Regions from separate parts of the Homo sapiens genome. Here all the other regions are linked to region 3. The links are contacts of gene promoters, found by promoter capture Hi-C in human tissues and cell types (Jung and others, 2019). All regions are on one chromosome and are shown on one strand. The core of a region is centred on a gene start or on the middle of the fragment in contact, and the rest is flanking DNA. Distances in the headings are between cores, read along the strand shown.

Region 1 (3,079 bases), core at 571-3,070, 420 kb before region 3:
GGAATCAGGTCTCAGCTCTGACTGTAACTAGCTTTGTGTCCTTAAGTAAGCCACCTAACCTTTCTGGGACTCTGTTTCTTTGTCTGCTAAAGGTAAGATTAAGCCTTCAAGAGCCCTCAAACTCTCTTGGTCTTTGTTTGCCAATTTAAAAAATGCAGCTAATGCGTCTCTCTCATAGGGATCATGTGAGCCTAAAATAAAGAGCTTGTGTAAAGTGTGTAAAAGATGCTCAGTATATATAAGGTTCTTTTCCTGTTCTTTTAAAAGCAGAGAAATGCTTAGGACACCCAGGACGCCAACATGAGCATAGAAGGCAGTCTGATATACTGACCAAGAGCAGATAGACTTGGATCCATTGCTGGTTTCATTATTTATGGGACCAGTAACTCTAGGCTTCTCACCCAACCTAAAATGAAGATACTAATCATATTTACTTCTGAGTTATTGAGAAGATTAATTTAAAAATGCTTTTAAAGTGCTTAGCAGAGTATCTGACACAGAGTAGGCATTCAGTAAATTTTATTTACATGTGTAACACTTAGGGTGGGAGACATGGATGAACTACTGGAAAAGGGAAAGATACTGAGGTGGGCTGCCCTAAAAAAGGAAGGTAAGAGGAAGACCTACACTTATTTCACACTTTTGTTGCAGGCCCTGCTAGTTCACACATTGTTTGCTTTGTGATTTTTTTTTTTTGAGACGGAGTGTTGCTCTGTTGCCCAGGCTGGAGTGCAGTGGCGTGGTCTTGGCTCACTGCAACCTCTGCCTCCTGCGTTCAGGTGGTTCTCCTGCCTCAGCCTCCCGCCACCATGCCCGGCTAATTTTTGTATTTTTAGTAGAGACGGGGTTTCACCATGTTGGCCAGGCTGGCCTCGAACTCCTGACCTCAGGTGATCCATCCGCCTCGGCCTCCCAAAGTGCTGGAATTACAGGCGTGAGCCACCATGCCCAGCCATGATATTTATTTTATACCTAAGATGAGCTTAATTCTGTTATGACTTTCTTGTTCCTAGGGTGAGCTTAATTCTGTTATGACTTTCTTGTTCCTAGGGTTTAAATATCAAGGATACTCACTAAAACACTGATAGACCTTTTGTGTTTTCTCTGATTGCTTCCCTTCTGTGCCTGCCTGGAGGCTATAGGTCCTGGACAGTTCCCACATTGATGTTTTTTTTTTCAAAACAGTTTTTTCCTGATGGTACATTTGTTAATGTAAAATAGCTCAAGTAAATGTATGTGCGTATGTATGAAAGAGACAGAGAGAGACAGAGAGAGCTGTATGGGATCCATCAGCTGCCGAGGGTACCCTTTCATCAAGCAGAGTTCACATTGCAGAGCATTGGATCAGAGGGTGGCCAGCAGCTGGAGGGAGAGCAAACTTGAATCTACTTTATAGACCCACTAGTCACTTCCATTTGCCCTTTACTTAGGAGAAAATACACAGCAAAAACTGTTCTTTAGACATGGATGCATCTAGTTTAATAAATCTTAATGTAGTGCTATTAAAAATGAGGTAAAGTCAGGAAATTTTCTACCCCCTCCCAAGTGCTCTTATTCCTAGATATGCAGGACCAAGCATAAAGTTATTTTCACACATTGGGAAGAAATGTTCCATTCCAATTTCAAGTGGAGGTTTTCCACTTTTGGAAGTGCTGCTGAGACTGCAATTATAAACTACAACTATTCTTTTAAAACAGTTCCTGGGATGAATTAAGATCTTGCAGTAAAAATACCATATACAATCTGTCACATTATCTGTGGAACTCTTCCCTTTGCCAGCTTGGTCAGTGAGGGTAACAGCTGCCCAGAGTTCATTGCTAAACGGATGTTTAACAATGGTACTGTGAATTCAGCACTTCATATTAGAATAATGCTTGAGTTCCTGGTATTCGGTTAATGGAGTTTTACGTACAGTGATACAGAAAATATGTGATGCACAGGATTTCAGCTTTTTAAGAATTCTCACCACTTCTCCTCCCATCTCAATTTTGTTGTTGTGGAAAATGAAAATCCCACAGGAAAGCCAAGTGTAGTCCTCATTCCCTGACTTCTGGCTTTGTACTCCATCACTTTCCACTTCCTTCCCCTCCCCTCTCTACACTGTTCACCTGGGCCTAAACGTCTGAATGACTGCAGCCTCAAGGAAAGCTTCAAGTTAGACTAGATGACCTTTAAGGTTTTGTTAATCCTGAGAATCCGTTTGGCCACATCAATGAGCTCCTTTGTATCTACTCAAATGTGATAGAACAGACGAGCATTCAGAGTAAGGGGATCTTCCTAGGCTGGCTGCAGAGAGAACAGTCAGCAGTGCTCGTGCCATGGCTACAGATTACACATCTCACTCTGGGGGTGTGTGGGGACTGGGAAAGGGGGAGCCAGTTTGGCCTGTGGCACATGTAATTTTTATACTTTGAACTACTGAAATGGGTCTGAGTTCTCCAGCTCTTCACAGACCCCATCACTTCCTGTTTTTGTTTTATGAGCAGACTGTTGAGTTTATTTCTGTTGTCTTTGCCAGTCTCTCAAAACATTTGTGTTTGTGATCTCTGATTTAACCAGTCTCCAGCTGATGGTCATTTAGGTAGCCTTCAGCTTTTTAATATTAATAAATATTGCTTTAATAACATCTTTGCATGGTACGCCCTTAGAATTAATTCCTGCAGTAGAATTATTGGGTCAAACTGTTCACAAATTTGAAATTTTGATACATATTGTTAAATTTCCCTATCGTTTTTGGTATGTGAATTGTTGCTTTATATTATTTACTGAATTTTCCATGGAATTCTTATTTTCTTTATTGATTTTAAAGACTTCTTCAGCTATCAAGTCAGGTTATGAACCTTTTAACATATGTGGTAAAGATATTCTGCTAGAATATCTTTTAAAGCTTTGTATATGGTATCTAACTTCAGACATTTAAATTTTTATATATTTTGATTTATTAGCTTTTTCTTGTGGTTTCTGGAATTTTATGTCATCTTTGGGAAAGTTTTTCACATTCTAAGATTACAAAAATATTAACCCTTACTTTGTTTTAGAATGTTTTATTATTTTTTCTTTCTCAATATTTAATCTATCA
Region 2 (2,762 bases), core at 132-2,631, 380 kb before region 3:
TTTCACTGATACATGGGAAGGGGAGCGAGTTGTTGCTTTTCTGCCAGGACCACAAACAGCCTCATGGTAGGCTCAGGCCAGATGATTCCCTCTTGAGCTTTCTCCACATCAGTATTAGGGACCTGTTTGTAGGGTCAGAAAATATGGAAGCCGTCGGGTTTCTTGGTGTGTTCTGCAAGACCATAAGGGTGCTACACGCAGCCCTTCTGATCTGCCCCTAACCTGGGTTCAGCTGGGCCTAGATGTAAGGAGCAGAGTGTGCAGAAGGGCTGGTATGTGTGTGGTGAATTCAAGGGAGGCCCTTTGCTGCTTAGCTCCATCCTCTGTTCCAATCTGGAGACCCAGAATCCATGCGTATGTAGGGGGCCCACTATGTACTAGGCCCTGTGTATGACACACACCTTCACACATGCCATTCTCTCTGCTTGGAGTACTCCCCCCTGGAACCTCATTTGCTTAATTAGCAATTTATCATTTGGATGGCAGGTTAGATTGTCACTTGCTCAGGAAAGCCTTCTCACTTTCTCGGGCCATGGTCCCTGATACATTATACACACCTGTACTTAGTAGAGCTCGCTATATTTATGTGATTATTGCATTAGAGTCTATCTTCCCTACTAGTCGGTAAGCTTCATGAGTATAGGGATATATTTTTCCACCACTGTATCTCTTGAGACTAGTAAGCAGCCCATAAGTCAGAAGCCAGTATATCAGAGTGGCTGGGCATAACACAACGGCATGTGTGTCTGTTTGTGGGTGGCAGCGGGGGAGACACTATGGGGAACCTGAGAGTGCATGCCTCACGCAAAGGCATTCAGATTCTTAAAATATAATAAAAACACTGTTGGACTAAGCCGAAACATGACTGCAGGCCACACATGAAGCCCCAGTTTAAGACTCTTCCAACGGGTATTTGTTGAGTGAGTGAGTGAAGAACCTACAAGGAATATATTGTAAAAACTTCAAGAACCAAGCAGGGACAGGGCAGGCGGAGCTGAACGGACCTCCTTTTCAGTCTTGTTCACACCTTTTTGAGGGCCAGGTCTCTCTCTGGCTATCTTTTTTTCCCCCTCTGAGCTTGGCACCCAGTGGGCTGTAGGAATTGGTTGATCTATTCAACATTTACCAAATACCTACTCTGCACCAAGCCCAGAGTTCAAGCAGACAATGTCTTCCATCTTGAGGCTCAGGGTGATGGGACAGAGATAGCCACAGTCAGACAACAACAGCACAGTGCTGGGTGCTGTAGCCACAGTATGTGGAAAGGGCTACTGGATCCCCTCCTCTGACTTTCTCAGCAAGTGAAGAGAAGATTCAGCAGGTGGGTATGAGAGATATGCCCCCAGCAAGGGTGAGGGGGCTGGAGCTGGCCAGAAGGGAGAGGACTCTCACACATGGGCCTGGATGGGTACTCTAGGTAGGGCTGGACAATGTAGGGCTGGACGTCTGTGTGATGGGCAGAAAGGAACTGCCAAGGTCAGACTGTTGGGGGAGGGTCTTAGAAGCCAGTATTCATATATGTCAGCCCTCTGAACATTTCAGAGCTGAGCTGGCTTTAAGTTAGAGACCCCTCTGCTCTCCTTGGCTTTCATTGCCCTCTGGGTCACAGATTCTGACCATTTGACAGAGGGGCTGGAATCTGGACTTGGGGGCAGGGATTGGACCACTTTACACAGCAGGTCTTGGCGCAGCTAGGTTGTCTAGATCTCAGGCCAGGGGCCCTTCAGATTTTCTTTCTCTCACATCAGCCCTGGGAGGAAGGTCGGAAGATTATTGCTTAGCAAATCTTGCATACCAGCTAAAGAGGCAAGTACAATGCTATGGTACTTCCTCCCAGGACTCATCCTCCTTCCCTCCAGGACTCATCTTTGATTGCTGACTCCTGTTGGATGCTCCTAGAAAGGAACCACAGCTGAGATCCAGAGCTCCTATATCCAAATCTCCTGTCTGGACCCTTCCCTGGCTCTGAAAGGGATTTCTTATCTTGTGGATCAACTCTGGGGATCCATGAATCACCAAAAAACACACGCAAACTTCATGAGGGCAGAAGAAAGATGGAGTTGATGGAGCATTGCTCCAGGCACACCAACAAGCCCAGATTCCAAACCTGACTCTGCCACTTCTAATTGTGACATCTGGGAGAGGCATCGCTCATCTCTTAGCCTTGGTTTCCTCATCTGTGAAGTGGGGATAATTCTCTTTCTCCAACACAAGGCCAAACATGACCTGGTTCATGTACAGGAGGTGCTCAGGAATCATTAGTATCCTTTCAACTTCCTCCCTCTGGCTCATGCCTGCTTCATGAATGGCTTGGAGGCAGGTTTATAAAGCTTTCTGAGTTGCTTGCAGAATCTCACAGAATCTAGGGTAGCACTGTCCTGTCCTGGGCCTTTGGAGGAAGGAATGCAGCTTTTGAATCTCATTTCTCAGGACAGCATGAGTGATCCTGGGAGGCTCACTACCATGAAGAACTTTAGCAGGGGAGGAATCTCTACTGTAGGGGCATGGCAGGGGGTCACGGATCCCTGGTTTTAATACATCTGAGGGTGTGGAGGCTCACTGGGGGCCTGGCTCTCTAGATCTGCAGACTGTCCCTCCTGAGAGGTTTCTCGGGATGTCTCCAGAGATGCCTCCGACACCCCATCAATGCTGCTCAGCAAGTCCTCAAACTCTTGGTGGTTGCTGTTGCGCACGGCTGCCTCCAGAGCCTTCTGGCGCCGGTAGAAGTGGGAGAACTTGTTGAAGATGATGGTGATGGGGAG
Region 3 (2,759 bases), core at 239-2,738:
GCATGAGAAGCTGGGGGAGGTGTTCTCAGCATCCATTTTGGGGACAGTGGCCAGATGTACTCACATCACCAAACCCTACTCACCTGTCACTATCATCCCAGTGTTCACTGCCCCAGGGCCCCTCTAGCCTCCAGCAGCAAAGACCTCCTGGGGCTTCTAGAACCTCAGATCATTGGAGCAGGAAGCACTTCTTGTCTAACTCCCTGGGTAACTCTGTTTTGGCACTTAACCCCCTGGATTCTAAAGCTTCATTTATACTTATTGGTCTCCTTCGTCACAGGAGACACTTATCTGTGGAGCACTCATGGCCATGTATCCAGTACCTATCATGGGTCAGGCCTGGAGTCCCTGTGTCAATCAGTGTGGATCTACTCTCAATGCTCCCAGTGAGTACATGGTTGTTCCGTGGCAGGAACGTTGCATTTGTGTTCTCACTGAAGTCCCATATAGGTGTCATTTTCACTGATGATGTGGCAGCTCAGATCCAGGAAAGGATTCATTCCAGGGCCCTCAGGTGGGAAGTGGTGGAGGTGGGAGTCAGACCCCAGACCCTGTCACCCCTTCAAGACCAGTGCTGGAGGGCCCCTTTTGACGACTTTCTCTTCACCAAGCGTCTTGCCCTGCATATGTCACACAGTAGGCACCCAGTGAATATTTACGACGGAATGGAAAAAACAAGGGCCTGGAGGGAGAGACCTGGGTTCAAAACCTTATTTGTACAGCTTTGCAGGGGACCTTGTGGTGGAGGTGCGGTCCTAAATCCCTAAACACTCAGTTCCTTTGTCATATACAGCTGATAACAGTAACTCCCCGGTCAGAGGACCGGCGACAATTCCTTGAGACAAGGAGCACAGAGCCTGGCACAGTCAGCCCTGATCAGGGGCCGGTAGGACAAAGAGAGGGAGACAGAAACACACACCCAAACGGCTTGAGACTGCTAGGTGCTTCACCTTCCTGGGCCTGTTTCTGATGAGGAGGGTTTGTTTATTAATAATAAGTGCTATTTCTGTAGCCCCTACTATGTGCTCTGTATCACTACCCTAGCCCTCCATCAAGAGGGATCTGCCCTCTCATCTGGCTGACCCCAAATCGAACCCTTTAACCCGCATGCTCTACTGCCTCCCTGCGGGCCCTGCCTTATCCTCCTCAACCGCCCACTGGGGACACTCTGGAGAAACCTCGGAGTCTTGGAATAGAAACCCAGGAGCCCTGAGCCTTGGCCCTCAGGCCCCAGGAGGGAGGTCAGGAGGGAGGCGTGGACAAGGGTCCGGCCGTAGCTGGTCCCGTCCTGGAAGCTGCTTAAGTTCCTGGTTCCCACCGGGGCCAAGAGTGATACCTGATCCTGGGGGATTGTGAAATGACCTCATGTGGCAGCCCGCCCGCGGTGCCCGCAAAGCCCTCCACCCTCCCCTTCCCCGCTCGGCTCCACCCCTACCCCACGCCCCCTCCCGCGCGCGCGGTTAAATCCCCGCACCTGAGCATCGGCTCACACCTGCACCCCGCCCGGGCATAGCACCATGCCTGCTTGTCGCCTAGGCCCGCTAGCCGCCGCCCTCCTCCTCAGCCTGCTGCTGTTCGGCTTCACCCTAGTCTCAGGTGAGTGGGGCGGGGAGAGGCCCGGCGCCTAGAGGGGCCGAGCCACGAGCGCCAGGATGGAGCCAGGCGGAGGCGTAGCCTCTGGAGGCTGGGGAAGTGGGAATTCCGGGGGCGGAAGTGGCGGGGACCCTTGGAGCCTAGGGTGTGGGGTCCAATGTGCTGGAGGTGGAGAGACCACTGATGGCTGCAATTTGGGAGGATTCTGTGCTGAACGCGGACACTCCGTGGCTGCAGTGGGCTGGGGGTGGGGGCTGCTCTGCCTCGACCTCGGAAGCTCCGAGACGCTCAGCTGTGCGGCGTCCCCTAGGGCTGAGATCTGAGGGCCCCGACGCCAAGGGTTAGGGAGCTCTCGTACTCCCAGGGGTCAGGGACTCCTGGTCTGGAAGAAGGAGTCTCTGGGGGCTGTAAGGGGACTCCTAGGGCCAGAGACTGAGAATTCCTTGGGGTTAAGGTTTGGAGCAGGAGGTGGGCATCCTCTGGGGCTGGCGCTACGCCCCACCCTCGACTGTCCCGGGCCTCCCCTCCCAGGCACAGGAGCAGAGAAGACTGGCGTGTGCCCCGAGCTCCAGGCTGACCAGAACTGCACGCAAGAGTGCGTCTCGGACAGCGAATGCGCCGACAACCTCAAGTGCTGCAGCGCGGGCTGTGCCACCTTCTGCTCTCTGCCCAATGGTAACCCCACGGCGGCCGAGCGGGAACGGGGCGGGGCCGCGCTGGGCTGGGAGGAGGTGGGAGGGCCCGGGTTCCGGGAACAGGGGCGCCCCCGGACCCGGGGACCCCCGGGAAAGTCAAGGCGGTTGAAACCAGATCCGTCAGTCCTCTCCCTCGCACGGCCCAGGGGTAGACAAAGGCGTCGTTGAAACGCAGCCAAGGGGGGGTCCCCACCCCTAGCTGGGATTCGAGTCTCTGGTGCATGACGGGCTTCCGGGCACGCACAGCCGGGACATTGTTCCCCGCGGCCTGGGGACCCGGGGCCGCAGTTTCCTTCTCGAACCGGCCGAAGCCTGCCCTGCGGGAAAGCCCGGAGCCTGGGGCGCTCACCTCTCCTCTTGGAGTCCCTCCCTGGGGGCCTCCCCCAGCCCTGGGGAAAGACTGGGAGAGCCTGGCCTGGCAAGATTTTCCCCAATTCCTCTGTCCAGGCGGAAAGGAACTTTACAGATTTA

What was found. The method cuts DNA at HindIII sites, captures the fragments that hold promoters and counts their contacts. A contact is called where the count stands out against the background at its distance.
Region 1: a contact is called between a fragment that was not itself captured here and the fragment with the promoter of WFDC2 in region 3, in 1 of the 25 tissues and cell types used here (dorsolateral prefrontal cortex).
Region 2: a fragment that was not itself captured here is called in contact with the fragment with the promoter of WFDC2 in region 3 in 2 of the 25 tissues and cell types used here (dorsolateral prefrontal cortex and small bowel).

What each region holds. Positions count from the first base shown.
Region 1 is chr20:45,047,828-45,050,906 of GRCh38, forward strand. The region is part of intron 10 of STK4 (serine/threonine kinase 4); the gene reads left to right. Among named protein-coding and RNA genes, the nearest start is that of KCNS1, 52 kb to the right of the region's middle. The HindIII fragment of the contact is 3,661 bases long and covers 1-3,079 here.
Region 2 is chr20:45,092,339-45,095,100 of GRCh38, forward strand. KCNS1 (potassium voltage-gated channel modifier subfamily S member 1) reads right to left here. Exons shown (of 4, transcript NM_001322799.2): 4 at 1-2,762. The coding sequence ends at 2,532. Among named protein-coding and RNA genes, the nearest start is that of KCNS1, 7.4 kb to the right of the region's middle. The HindIII fragment of the contact is 5,760 bases long and covers 1-2,762 here.
Region 3 is chr20:45,468,265-45,471,023 of GRCh38, forward strand. It overlaps WFDC2 (WAP four-disulfide core domain 2), which reads left to right and starts at 1,489. Exons shown (of 4, transcript NM_006103.4): 1 at 1,489-1,596; 2 at 2,125-2,268. The coding sequence starts at 1,518. RefSeq lists silencers at 2,154-2,343, 2,364-2,413. The HindIII fragment of the contact is 12,073 bases long and covers 1-2,759 here.